Linked DNA regions of Homo sapiens: region 2 is linked to region 1. Evidence: promoter capture Hi-C in human tissues and cell types (Jung and others, 2019). All regions are on one chromosome and are shown on one strand. Each heading gives the region's core, a stretch centred on a gene start or on the middle of the fragment in contact. The rest is flanking DNA. Distances are from core to core; before and after follow the strand shown. Region 1 holds the start of KRTAP10-6 (keratin associated protein 10-6). Region 2 has its middle 30 kb from the start of TSPEAR.

The links. The method cuts DNA at HindIII sites, captures the fragments that hold promoters and counts their contacts. A contact is called where the count stands out against the background at its distance.
Region 2: a contact is called between a fragment that was not itself captured here and the fragment with the promoter of KRTAP10-6 in region 1, in 5 of the 25 tissues and cell types used here (dorsolateral prefrontal cortex, lymphoblastoid cells, mesenchymal stem cells and 2 more).

The regions. Positions count from the first base shown.
Region 1 is chr21:44,589,545-44,596,648 of GRCh38, reverse strand. KRTAP10-6 (keratin associated protein 10-6) reads left to right here and starts at 4,144. Exons shown (of 1, transcript NM_198688.3): 1 at 4,144-5,381. The coding sequence starts at 4,165. The coding sequence ends at 5,262. All of the region lies in intron 1 of TSPEAR (thrombospondin type laminin G domain and EAR repeats), which reads left to right. RefSeq lists enhancers at 3,057-3,803, 3,804-4,549, 4,550-5,297, 6,270-7,090. The HindIII fragment of the contact is 10,619 bases long and covers 1-7,104 here.
Region 2 is chr21:44,737,520-44,744,623 of GRCh38, reverse strand. No RefSeq gene overlaps it. Among named protein-coding and RNA genes, the nearest start is that of TSPEAR, 30 kb to the right of the region's middle. The HindIII fragment of the contact is 5,348 bases long and covers 162-5,509 here.

The DNA of each region.
Region 1 (7,104 bases), core at 2,895-5,394:
GTGGGCAGACTACCCAGATGACTTGCTGCTGGGCTGAGGTTGCTCCACGGCTTTGGCAGGCAGTTTGCTGCTACACATCACAATTCAAAACCTCATGCCTTTAAGCCTGAATCACTAAGCAAGCATCCTGTAGATACTCCTGGGTGGATACAAGGTATGTGCAAAGGTATCACAGCCATGACATTGTCCAGACAGCGGGAGACAGACTCTAGGGTGGCCCCATGTCCCTCACCTCCTAGTGGTCACTGGCTGTGTGCCCCACACTCCTTGAGTGTGGTTGGGACTGTGACACGTGTATAGACACAAGGAGCCACAGAGAGGGTGATGGGATGTGCATGATCCCATTACATAAGGTCATAATGCTCGTCTCGGGAGGACTCTGTCTCCCTGGCTAGCTGTGAAAAAGCCAGCACATTGCGAGCTGCCCGTTGAGGCCGCATGGAAAGAGATGATGGCAGCCTCCAGTTGACAGCTGGTGACAAACTGAGGCACTTAGTCCAAGAAGCTACAAGGAACTGAGTTCTGCCAACAATCACATGAGCTTGGAAGTGGATCCTTCTCCAATTGAACCTTCCCATGAGACACTCCAATACAGCCCTACAGAGACCCCAATTTAACTGTGCCTGGACTCCTGACCCACAGAAACCGAGATGATAAATGTGTGTTATTTGAAGCCACTAAGCTTGTGGTACTTTGTTCCACAGCAATAGAAAATGAACACACAGACCACATGGAATTCTATGCAGCTGTAAACAAGACAGAGATCATTATGTATTCACAGGAAAGGAGCTCCATGTTTACAGAAACATAGTGGGTAGAGTATGACATAATTTGCATTTTAAAAATTTATGTGTACAGAGGCATTATATGTATGTATGTGTATGTGCATATATGTTTACACATACACATAATAGAATGAGGTGATGTTTTGCTTTCCTGTCTCAGCTCGCATATGGTAAACAGGTGTCCTTGTTATGTTCTCCTCAGTGCCGCACGTTCCTCCACGATGCTCTGATCTTGTTGTTTAAAGTGCCCCAGTGCAGTGCTGCTGTGCTGCTGGGTGTCCGGAGCTCAGAAGGCTCCAGCACGTCTTACAGAGAAAACACATGTGTTCAACCAACTTCATTCAGGCTCTGTAGGGCTGTTGGCTGGGGCTCAGTGTTGATAAATCAACTATATAGATTCAGTAAGGTGTCTTCAGACAGAAGCATTCGTAAGACATGTCTATGCATTGATTAGGTGATGGGAATGTTGTGATCAGAGGCTCATGAGACCATAACCCTGTGCTTCCTGTAGGAGCAGTGGTTCAGTATTTGGTTATTCGGTGCTGGTGGAGACTGTATAGAACAGAGCCTCTGGGAATAATGAGAATGGGCTGTGTGTGTGCATATACGGAAGAGGCAGACAGACAGAGACAGAGAGAGATGGAGAGATACAGAGAGAAAGAGAATAAATGGGTGAAAGTAGCTGCTTCCTGAGAAGAGAATTGGGTGACTGCTTGTGTTCATTTAAAAAAATCACCATCTGGCCAGGTGCAATGGCTCAGGCCTGTAATCCTAGCATGTTTGGGAGGCCAAGGTAGGTGGATCACTTGAGGTCAAGAGTTTGAGACCAGCCTGGTCAACATGGTGAAACCCTGTCTCTACTAAAAATACAAAAATTAGCCAGGCATGGTGGCTTATGCCTGTAATCCCAGCTACTCGGGAGGCTGAGGCAGGAGAATTGCTTGAACCAGGAGGTGGAGGCTGCGGTGAGCTGAGATCGTACCACTGCACTCCAGCCTGGGCAACAGAGTGAGACTGCATCTCAAAAAAAAAAAAAAAAAATCACAGATCCGTAAGTTTGGAAAAAAAGAGGAGACTTTGTTTCTTCTAAAGGGGCACAGCCTGCAAGAAAGCCATCCTGCAGGCCGGGAAGCACAGCCTCTGGCCAAGACGAGAGCCAGGAGGAGGGGCTGGGGCAGGAGCTCCACGCTGACCAGGTTGGCTGAATACACATGTGCAATAGGTTATGGAGGAATAGTGAATATTCACGAAGGAGGAACTGAACAAACATGCATGTAACATACGACCTGTTTTCACTCTGCGGTTGTGAGAAACACACTGACCCGTCCAAATCCAAAGAATGGACTTAGAGGCATGAAGAACAGTGAAAGTGAGACTTTAATGTCGGTCTTGCAAGATCTGGTGTCTGATGGGCGGGCACACCCAGCACACTTTCAACAAGCAATTTATCCCCTAGTGTGCAGGTCCCTCGCCCAGTTCCTCGCAGCCTGAGTACTATGGGGTCACAGGCTTCCTGGACGTCACCTAAGTTTCATTATCCCCTTATAAGGTTACATCTTGTCCCCTTCCCCACTTTACATTTGATTTCTCAATGGCAAAAGTTTCTTTCCTTTTATGTGTTAGCCATCCGTCACTTTTTCTTCCTCCCCTCTGACTTCTGTGAGTCTTATCACTCTTCCCAGATGTCTGTACTGTGTGGCTTGTCACATCTGCAAGGGAGCTGCCTGGACTTGCCAGGGCCTGTTTTCTGAATACGGACCACTTGAAATGTACTTCTTACAGGGTGGAGTCTTATCATGTCAATGGGTCGCAATGAGGCCCTAAACCTCAGAAGTCTTCTCAGGACACAAAGGCACTCCAGTGCACAGCCTCTGTAAACCGGCTGGAGCCAGTCCATGGTTGGGGGTCCCTTATCAGGAGGAGGTTCCTGAAGTCAGTCTCCTGCCCAGTCAGAGCTGTGGTCATGGCTGTGGAACGTGGTCAGTTGGCATCTGCTGGTGGATGAGCTGCAGTCGTTTGAACCTTGCTCATCCTCATCGCGGGGCCAGTGCGTGTTTAGCCACTGTAGAAAAACAGCAGCTGTGGCGTGAGAGCAGAGTCCGTCCTCTCAGTGTAGGGCACGCGGCTTGTCCCTTGCCTGGCGCGGCCTGAGGTCCTGTTTGTAATTTGATATCTTATTGCCAGAGTCTGCTCTGTGGGTCTTACGGTCTCTATTTTAACTTTAGTGCTGGGTAGTGGTTGTGTCGAAACCCTAAAGGGAGGGGGTGTAACGAGGCGTGTCTGACCTCCCTTCCTGTCATGGCCAGGAACGCAGTTTTTCGGGGGTCCCCGTGGGCAAGATGGGATCCATTTAGTCAGTTGAGGGGCTTAGGATTTTATGTTTCGTTTACACTGGCAATGGGTTTGCAGTGAGATCAACTTCTCATGGACCCATTTTGTGTCTTCTGTGCGGGTTCTTTGGACAGATGTCCCTTAATTTTAAGGTGGTGACACTAAGAGGCCTGGCACAGGGCTTGGAAGACAGGGCTGGGAAATGGGCCCAGCAGGAGGCTGGGTGGGGGCTGACGGGCAGCCTCGGAGAAGCAGAGCACACAGAGGAGCCACCCCAGGCGGGGACGAGGGCTGCTGACCGCCCGCTGCTCAGCACGGTTACTCTGCAGGTTCAGAACCCAAAACCACAGCCCAGAAGGCTGTCATGCTGTCCAAGCAGGGAGGGGCCAAGCCCACCGTCCTTGCCCTGGAACACACAGGTCCTGCTGCCTCCAAAACACAAAGACGAGGTGGACACGAAACAGGGCCGGAGGTGAAGAGGCTGTGGGGATGAGAAGTCGTCCAGAGCTCAAAGCCAAGAGGTCTGGGCACAGTTACAGCTGCCCCCCACCCCCACCATGCCATGGCCCAGGGCAGGTCAATGAAGGCTCATGGGCCCCAGGTTGTCCCTCAGAAGATGGCCACAGTCCTGTGTCCGGTGATGGGGGAAGGACCACGCTGGATGAGGGGTTTTCACCACAAGGACACTTCCTGAGGCCGGCTTCCTGCAGAGGGACTCTGTGTCCCGGGGCTGCTGGGGCCAGGGGTGGACGATGCCGCGACCTGTGGCTCTCCCAGCTCCCCGAACCCAGCTGGGACCAGGCCCCGCCCAATTCCTGCCGCCAGGGATCCACATGGGATGGGACACAGCCCAGATGTGATGGGAGATTTATGAGCTGGCCCACATCACGGGCGAACAAACACCCCTAATCCCGGCAGACTCCAGCTCTCGGCAACACGGAAGGGGAAGCTGTGGGCCCGGGGACAACAAGGCCAGGTGGAATAAAAGCCCGAGAGCCTCAGCACCTCACAGGCTCACTCCCTCACCCTCCACCAGTTCAACCCCAGCATGGCCGCGTCCACCATGTCCGTCTGCTCCAGCGACCTGAGCTACGGCAGCCGCGTCTGCCTTCCTGGTTCCTGTGACTCTTGCTCCGACTCCTGGCAGGTGGACGACTGCCCAGAGAGCTGCTGTGAGCCCCCCTGCTGCGCCCCGGCCCCCTGCCTGAGCCTGGTCTGCACCCCAGTGAGCCGTGTGTCCAGCCCCTGCTGCCCAGTGACCTGTGAGCCCAGCCCCTGCCAATCAGGCTGCACCAGCTCCTGCACGCCCTCGTGCTGCCAGCAGTCTAGCTGCCAGCTGGCTTGCTGTGCCTCCTCCCCCTGCCAGCAGGCCTGCTGCGTGCCCGTCTGCTGCAAGACTGTCTGCTGCAAGCCTGTGTGCTGTGTGTCCGTCTGCTGTGGGGATTCTTCATGCTGCCAGCAGTCTAGCTGCCAGTCAGCTTGCTGCACCTCCTCCCCCTGCCAGCAGGCCTGCTGTGTGCCCGTCTGCTGCAAGCCTGTCTGCTCTGGGATTTCCTCTTCGTGCTGCCAGCAGTCTAGCTGTGTGAGCTGTGTGTCCAGCCCCTGCTGCCAGGCGGTCTGTGAGCCCAGCCCCTGCCAATCAGGCTGCACCAGCTCCTGCACACCCTCATGCTGCCAGCAGTCTAGCTGCCAGCCAACTTGCTGCACCTCCTCCCCCTGCCAGCAGGCCTGCTGCGTGCCCGTCTGCTGCGTGCCTGTGTGCTGTGTGCCCACCTGCTCTGAGGATTCCTCTTCATGCTGCCAGCAGTCTAGCTGCCAGCCAGCTTGCTGCACCTCCTCCCCCTGCCAGCACGCCTGCTGTGTGCCCGTCTGCTCTGGGGCTTCCACATCATGCTGCCAGCAGTCTAGCTGCCAGCCGGCTTGCTGCACCGCCTCCTGCTGCAGATCCTCCTCCTCCGTGTCCCTCCTCTGCCACCCTGTGTGCAAGTCCACCTGCTGCGTGCCCGTCCCCTCCTGTGGTGCCTCTGCCTCCTCCTGCCAGCCCAGCTGCTGCCGCACGGCCTCCTGTGTTTCCCTCCTCTGCCGCCCCATGTGCTCCCGCCCTGCCTGCTACAGCCTCTGCTCTGGCCAGAAGTCCAGCTGCTGACAGCCCTGGATGTGATCCGGAGTCCCTTCCCACCAGGGGCTGACCTCCCAGCTGCCCCAGCAAGCTCTGCCCTCTCTGGCTTTGACACCCTCAGAAGATGGGGCAGGCTCTTTGTCTTAGGGACCAGGATGCTCCCCCTGTCCTTCCCAGATGCTGGCTGCATGAGAGACCCCAGCTACTCCCCCAGACCCAAGTTCTGCAGAACTAACCCCCAGCAGGCCTGGTTCCACCCTGGGCAGCACCCCCTCTAGTTCTAATAAAGCCGCCTCTGTCTCACACCAACCTCTGTCCTGTCTGTGGACCCCCGGGGGGCACAGGGTGAGGTGGGAAGTGATGCCACCCCTGACTGCAGGGAGAGTCCTGACCCCCAGCAGGCCTGGCTCCACCCCTCTGTCTCTGTCGACTTTTCATCCTGTCTGTGGACCCCCGAGGGGCATGGGATGAGGCAGGAAGCAATGCCTTCTGGTGCTGGCCTCTGTGAACCCTGAAGGCCAGTCTCCCTCTTAGCCCCGTGGGCCCCCAACCCCAGCACATGGCCCCCCGGCCCATCTTAGGAAAGCTGCCTCTGGAACCAAGGCCAGGAGTTTCGGGACAAAGTGGACCCTGGCAGCACTCTGGGCCCCTGAGCCACATTCACCCTCCCCAGCTCATGGCTGCCCCCCAGGACTGGGGTAGCCCACCCGGGGCCTAGCTCCAGCCAGCAGCCTCACCCCTCCTGTTACCCCTGGGGAGACCAGCTATGGACCACAGTGCCCATCCCTGCAGCCCTCATCTCCTCCACAGTAAGACATGGGGACCACGCCCTCCCCCAGGACTCGAGCCCAGCAGCCCAGTATTCGTGGGGTTCTGGAATACCCATTGCTCAGGCATCGCTGGCGAGAACACAGATGGGCAGGGACCATGGCACCCACTAACCAAGCCTGCGGGCCCCCCTGCCCCATGCGGCCTCGCCTAGACTTTCAGGGTCCTGGCTCCCTCCTGGTCCTGTGGTCCTGGACTCTGACCCCGAGGACCCTGTCCCCACACCCCCAGCCTCCTAGGTCTCTCCAAATAGCCCTCAGCTCTGTCTGCCACCCTCCGCTCTGGCACTCAGACGTGGTCCACGATACCGCGTTGGGCGAGTGGTACGAGCCGCTGCACTCTTTCTGCCAGGTCGCTGTGTGCATTTGAGAGCCCAGGTCTGCCTCCTGCCCCAGCAAATGACCCTTGCATGTCAACGCCAGAGGCGACCAGCACCAGCAGGAGGACCTCCCGGAGTCCCACCCCATGGAGCTCCCTGTGGTCAGCACAGCCGCCTCGCTCACTCCCCTCCAGGCAGACCCAGGACAGCCAGCAGCAGCCGTCCCCAGGGCCGGAGGCCAAACTGACACAGCCTTGTCCACCTCCTTGGAAGCAAAGCCACGTCCCCATGAAGGGACAAATGAGAGCCTCCAGGGGCAGAGATGTTTTCTTCCTGCCCTGGTTCTCCGGGTAGCTGGCAGGGGCCGAGCCTTCATCCTAGGGCTCCAGGACCATCCTGGGGAGGGGCTCCCCACACATGCGTGTCTGAGCCCCACCCACCTCACTATGCCCACTGATGGCTACAAGGTCAGAACAGAGAGCCAGGTGGAGGGGCCGGGGCTGGCTCTCTGACCTCCTCCATGTTTGTCATTGTCCCCACCTGCCCTCGTCCGAGGCACCGACAGGACCCAGCCTGTCTGGCCATCCCCAGGGAGGACATCTCCTGGTGGGGGGGTCTCACCTCTGACCCCTGCTCTGGGTCCTCATTCGATGTGTCTTCTGCTTCATCAGAGCTTCAACTCCTAGTGAAAGCACCTTGGAAAACCGTCCCTCAAAATGGTC
Region 2 (7,104 bases), core at 1,586-4,085, 150 kb before region 1:
GGCTTGGCTTTGGTTAGCTCCCTTGGTCTTACTTTCACAAAAAGGAAACCTCCAGGTGATGGGCACTATATTTATTCCCATCACCTGGCAGGATTTGCAGGATCATTGCTCAGAATTAAATATGGATCCAGATTTTTACATTACCCATCCCCTTTTGTTCCTTCTGAGCTGCAGTTGGAGATGGCTGGTTGGTTCACAGGAATAAGCAGGGTTAGTCTAAAATGTAGGCAAAACGCAAAAACAACGAATGAGTCTAGAGTTTAATGACAAACGTATGATAAGTTTTGAAACATAATGTCTCTCTCCAGTCCTCATTTTTAAAAACAAATCATGATAGGACTGAGTTGTTTGCAAAACAGACTTTAGTCTTATACTTGGCCTGATTATTTGCATAAAGAGCAGCAAGCATAATTATTTTAACGTGGGCCTTTTAGATTTACATGGGCTTTGATGGAACTCTGTTTCACAAGGAATGTCAGATAGGCCTTTCTAAAGCTGAGATTGTACCCTCAAATACTTGTAAGCTGGGTAAACAACTCTCTTCTTGAGGTCCCAATAGCATGGAGTTCCTGGACCTGTTAGAAAGTGACATGCTTTACTCACCACAGGTTAGGAACCCTGTATGGGGACTGTGTAGACCAGTTATGAGGCCAGTTTTCCCAAGGGTCTTTTGTTGGCTCTGCAAATCGAGCTTGACTCCTTAAAGGTGAGCATACCCTTCTAGTCAAAGCCTTGGTAAAACAACCAGTTTCTCCAATTGTGTCTTGTTGCAAAAGAAAATGGATTCTTATTGCACTGATGCAAACAACTATATTGTCATAAGTTAAGAATACTTACAACTAGTTTCCAAATCCCGGAGAAGCCAGGCAGAGAGAGAGACAAATATGTTCCAAATTGTGTTCACAGTAGTATACCTTACTTAGTTATTAAAGGCCATAAATAGCTCAAAATGTTTCCTTGACTCTAAAAACAAAAGGATCAGCAATTTTCCAAGCAAAAGTAAAAAATATTACTTCAGTTTTCTATTAGTTCAGTCCTTTCAGTTAACTCTTGTTTTACTTGCTATTTGTGAACATTTCAGCTCTTCATGAGTCTGGTACATTTTTCCTTTATTCTAATGTCACAATCTCCAAAATTATTAGAAACCTGCATTTGAGAGCACCTGGTGAAGTTCTGTAGCTGATTATAAACCATCCTTTGAAGAGGATCAAAACAAGACAACAATTGTCTATGAATAACAAAATGTCCAGGGTAGTTACAGTCAGAAACACAACTGACAAATACATTTGGTTATCTCCATAGTTTACAATAACTTAACAACCTTAATTGTGATCGATAGCATATACTCAGACATTAGAATTTTAGAAATCCCATACAACTTTGGAACATATATTAATATTATTCCCTAAAATATAACCTGAGGAATATTAAAGATCATTTTGGTAATCCCATGTACCTAACTGTGTCAGGTAATCCTGTTTACCTCTCTTCTGGGTGCTCCAGGGGCCCTCTGTGGCATCCAAAAGCCAGGGATCAGGAAAGACAATTTTTGAAACAGGAATTTGATTTTGGGAAGCCTGTCAAATATGTTAGAAGTTTAAAGAGTTGATGTTATGAAATAGAATTCCAGATTTCCATAAGTTATTTATTTCACCAAAATGATGACTCAGACATTTTTTTAAGAAGCAAAAACTTTTTATAACCCTTTACAAATTTTGCTAGATAGCAGATTAGTGTCTTAAGAGAACCCTTTTGGGCTTTTATTTCAATGCTCAATTTATGGAAAAGCCATAAACTAAAGTCACGTGAGCTAAAAGGTACCACAGCTTTTATCTTACCTTTAAAAAATATTTGATCCAAGTGCTTATCCTTCCTTAAGTCAATTAATTAGAGCTCTTTTTTAATAGACATCACACACACAACACATATATAACTACACAGGCAGAAGAAGATTCAGTAGCTATAATATTTTTCATAATTGGATTGTTGGCCTCTGGGTGGAGCCCTTTAAGAGCAAGACTAGGAAAACATGCAGTTTCCAGGCTCTCATAAGCAAATATAGCTGGGAGACAAAAACAGATTTTGAGAGGGATCCATCTGCCTCTAATTCCTGGGGCTCCATGAGGAAATCAGAGGTCTCTCATCTTTCATGTGTGCATTAAGAGTGGCAAGGCAAAATGGAGAAAAATAATTCAGTTGACTGAGAAAAAACCTCTTTCCAGCAAAACAAGATCCAAGAAGAGAAAAACAAAGGCCTTTTAAATATACCTGTAACTTGGATATCCACTTTTAATTAAGCTGAGTGCTCTTTAATAAAATCCTTTTAAATCTCATTACCCAGCTTTAGCCATGCCAAGCGGCCAATATTTCTGGCTTTCAAACTTTTCTGAAGGTTCAGAGAAAGGAAAATCCAAGGCAGTTTGTGGAGGGGAAGGGAATCAACAAATGGCAAAGGTCATGTAGATATCAAACCAGAAAGAACTCATTCCCTAAGCCAGGATTGGACCTGGGCCGCCATTGTAAAATGGTGAAGGCTAAACCAAAGCACTGCCATGTCGCTACAGGTCATGCTCCCAAGGACATAAAACAAGATGGAGGCCTGCAGCAAAGTTTGCTACTGACCATACAGAAAGACATGCAGAGCACACCAGATTGGCTGTAGCTTAAGACCAACTCACAAATCTTTCCTTCCTTCCTTCCTTCCTTCCTTCCTTCCTTCCTTCCTTCCTTCCTTCCTTTCTTTCTTTCTGTCTCTCCTCTCTCTCATCTTTCTCTCTCTTCTCTCTTTCCTTCTTTCTTTCCTTCCTTCTTTCCTTCCCTCCCTCCCTCCCTCCTCCTTCCTTCCTTCCTTCCTTCCTTCCTTTCTTTCTGTCTCTCCTCTCTCTCATCTTTCTCTCTCTTCTCTCTTTCCTTCTTTCTTTCCTTCCTTCTTTCCTTCCCTCCCTCCCTCCCCCTTCCTTCCTTCCTTCCTTCCTTCCTTCCTTCCTTCCCTCCTTCCTTCCTTCCTTCCTTCCTTCCTTCCTAGTTTTTTACTCTTGTTGCCCAGGCTGGAGTGCAGTGGCGCAATCTTAGCTCACTGCAACCTCTGCCTTCTGGGTTCAAGTGATTTTCCTACCTCAGCCTCCTGAGTAGCTGGGATTACAGGTGCGCACCACCATGCCCAGCTAATTTTTTGTATTTTTAGTAGAGACAGGATTTCATCATGTTGGCCAGGCTGGTCTTGAACTCCTGACCTTAGGTGATCCACCCACCTCGACCTCCCAAAGTGCAGGGATTACAGATGTGAGCCACTGCAGCTGGCCTACAAATCCTTTTTCATAATTAAAACTTTACAGAGAAAAACAGTGATAGCTAGGGTTCTGGCCTACTAAAGTGCTTTCTAAAAGGGGGAAAAAAACCCTCTCACTTAAAAGTTAACTCCTGACCTGGTGGAGAAAAGAAAAAAAGCTTAAAGTGCAGGGTTGGAAAGATGCCTTGGGAAAGAACCTCTTATTCTTATACAAATAGTTTCCTCCAACAGGGAGAGAAACTTACTGCTGTTTCTTCCCTAGGGCTTGAATGGAGCTGGACTCCTCAGTCATGGAATGAGGAGACACCATGGACATATGGTGGGGAATGCTGGCCAGCCTGCCACATGCAGCCTTTGAGCTATGCACCCCAGCCCCAGCTGGGAGGGGAGGCCAGGCGGGCGGGGAGTTGCCGCTTGCCCATCTGTCCCAAACAATGAAGGAAAATGCCATAGAAAGTCTGGGTCGGACCGAGGCCGACATTCTTGACCCCTGGGAGTGGCAAGGGTGGGGGCCTGTTTCCTTTACCTTCAGAAGAAGTCTGAGGACAAATAGGCTCAAAAACAAAAGGGAAAAAGATGTTTTGGTCCGCATTTACTCACCTTTGCTCGTGTCCCTGTATGGGCCACCAAAATGATGCAGGATTTTTACTCCTTAGCTCAGCTAAAACCTGGGTTCTTGTCCCATTACCAGGAAAAAATTAGGCACGTGGACATGTTGAAAGGTGAGATTTATTAAAAGAAAGCTCTTGGCAAAAATAAAATGAGGTCCTGCCAACAGGGTCGCACCTCACAGATTGAATTCCAGGCCACCACATACAAGCCGAAGAGGCCAGGCTCCTCCCCGCTGCACAAGGCATGCACTTCCCATGCCTCCACCCCATTCTCCCAGTGCACAGGGGGGCCCCCAGTCCGTTGCAAGCATGTGCAGACAAGACTCTGGGCAGGTTCCCTCATCTACACAAAAGTATCTGATATAAACACTTGTGGGGTGGGCTGGAGATTCTGTGGGGACCCTCACTTACCTGCCTCCTGCATCTGTCATCATTTTGTGATAGAATGAAACTGAGCCCTGCAGAAATTAAAAAGCAAAGAGATAATAATGTCTTGGCCATTAATAAGTCTGGAGCTTAGGATGAGTATTTTGAAAACTGTGCTAAATGTCTTATTTAAGCTAGAATTGGCATTGTGTTGTTGTTCATGTGATCTAAGTCAAGTCAGGACTGATAGGACCGAATGGACAAGTGGAAACATAGCAGCTGGGCAGCAAGAAGAAAGACTTGTGTCCAAATGCAAAGTGACTCTGGATTTATAGTATGCACTACAGTCTACTGCTGTGTAACAAACTGTCCCCAAACAGTAGCTTAAAACAGCCAAATGTATTATGCCACACAGTTTCTAGGAGTCAGGGACTAGAAGCTTAGTTGGTGGTTCTTGTTCAGAACATCTTATGAGGTTGCAGTTAGATGTTGGCTGGGGATGCATCATCTGCAGTGTTTAAAAGGAGTGTCACTTTTAAGAAAGCTTCCTCACAGGGCTGGCAGTCAGTTTGTGCTTTAGTTCTGTACCATATGGCCTGTCCAGCAGGATAGCCTGGACTTTTTTACATGGCAGCTGGGCTCTGAGAGATGGGGGAGAGGAAGAAAGAGAGGGAGAGGGAGTTCTGATGTGTGTCCTTTTCCTTAAAGATTTATTACTGGTCCATCAGAAGGAAATGTGAAACTTCCCACTTCCTCCTCCTTGAGATGCTACAAATATACAACTGACCTTGGGGCTGAGGTGCAGGGGCAGAAGTGGAGCTCTCATGGCCCAGAACAGAGAGGATGCAGAGCGGCATTTCACAGCATGCTGTTTGGGTAACATGATACCCTAGGTCTAGGAGCAATAGATGCATAAATGGATGGCTGGGCAGGTGGATGGACAGAGGGAGGGACACTGAAGCTTGTCCCAGGTGTCTCCTACATGGACTTGGGATCTACACTGCCATCTTTGCTTTCTTCCTACATTGTCATTGCTTGAACAGGACTGCCCCAGGAGAAATGTGTTTTTTGGCAAGTGCAGGGGCTAGAAAAGGAGCAGTTAAGGATAACAGCCACTGTACCCACTCTACCTTCAGAGCACCCTATTGCGGCCTCAACATCCCTTTTTTAATGCCAACTTTTCACTTTACATTTCAAGAAAATAATATGTCTCTTAAAGCTCTTGGGCCTGGATCCTCTGAGGACTGCATGCCCTTGAGAGAGTGGGGCTAGCCCCTGGTTGAAGACCTTTTTTCTAAGGTTGCTATCGATTCACTCCCCTTGCATCTCTTAAGTCTGGTATAGTTGTCCCTCCTTTCTTGCTCCTCTCTCACTGGGATTATTGCCACTGCCTCTGTGGGGATGTATATGGTTTTGGCCTGTCCAGCACCCACTCATCTTTCCCCTGCTAACAGCTGCCTGGCTGGCCTTGGGGCCTATGCCATTCAGGGGACTTGGGGCTCCTGGCTCCAGGACAGGAGAAAGCTTGGAAACATGGTGTATTCCTCTTGATTTCATGTGTGCTGAGTGGAAAGGTAAGGCTCGTCAGGGTTTCCCAGGTCAGAGGCTGACCCCTGTGGAGGACACCAGGCAGCTGCTGCTCAGAGGTCTCTGCAGGAAGGACAGAGAGCCCAATTAGCTGGTGCTTGCCAGACCAAGGCCTTGACTCAGATTGAGTATTTTGAGTAGCGATGCGGGAACATGATTTAGAGTTGCATAGAGTGATGATGACTTCCTCCAATCCATTTCTGCCAGCTGCTGGATTCATACATCCTTCGAAAGATGGTTGTTTGCCATCTTTGCTTCTCTTAATGATCTATCTGGGATCTTGTGTCATGGAAAATGTCCAGATGTATCGTCTTCATTTGAGTGGCTGCATAGTGTCCCTTGAATTGGCATCCCAACCTTTACTCAGTCCCCTCTGTATTGACAGCCAATTTGTTTCCATCTTCTGTTCTTAAACAGCACTGCCATAATATTTTGGTTCTCATGTTGTTATATGTATGTGGAGGTAAATCTGTATATATAAAAAAAAAGTCCCAAACAGGAATCACTGGGTCAGAGGTATTGCCATTTTAAATACTGAGAGATTGCCCCCAAATAAACATGACTTGTACATTCCACCAGGTGCATAAGAGCCATGTTGCCTTTCATAAACAAAGAAAACATTTGGTTCTGGTTCTGCCTTCATGACAGTTTGTGGTGAGCTCTTAAGGCCTCTAATGAGCTTTCTGGTGAATGTCGGCTCCTTTGCGAGCATATCTTGATTGAGAATCTCCTGCACTCTCCTTTTTGGATGCTCTGGCATCCACCAGCATGTTCTCTGCCTGAAACTCCTGTCCCCCTTGTTTTTCCACCCCAAAACCCCTTCTTCAAAACCTGTCTTATGCACCCTGTCTTTCAGGAAGCCCTCCCTGCCACGCCCAGGCTGAGTCTCTTGTCTTCCATGCTCTGAGGTTCTTCCTCCATCTTTGGATTCAAACTCCACTGTTCAAGTGGGCTGTTAGAAGAAGCAGGCTGCCTGTTTAATGGATGAGGGCTGGGCTGAGAGGGGAGACAATTTGGGGGAAATCATTTATTTCCCTCATCCATTTGGAAGAAACTTCCTCTATTACTCAAAATGCTTTGGAATATGACACCTTTTAAATTCATTTTCCCCCAAATCACTCTTCACGCTGCATTTTTGACCAGTGGGAGAAAAACCAGAGTCCACGCAGTGGCAGGCTATCCCTATCCTTTGTTCTGCCTGCTGTTTGGCCAAGCAGTGGTGTGTAAGGGAAGAGGGCTCCCCATGCCTGC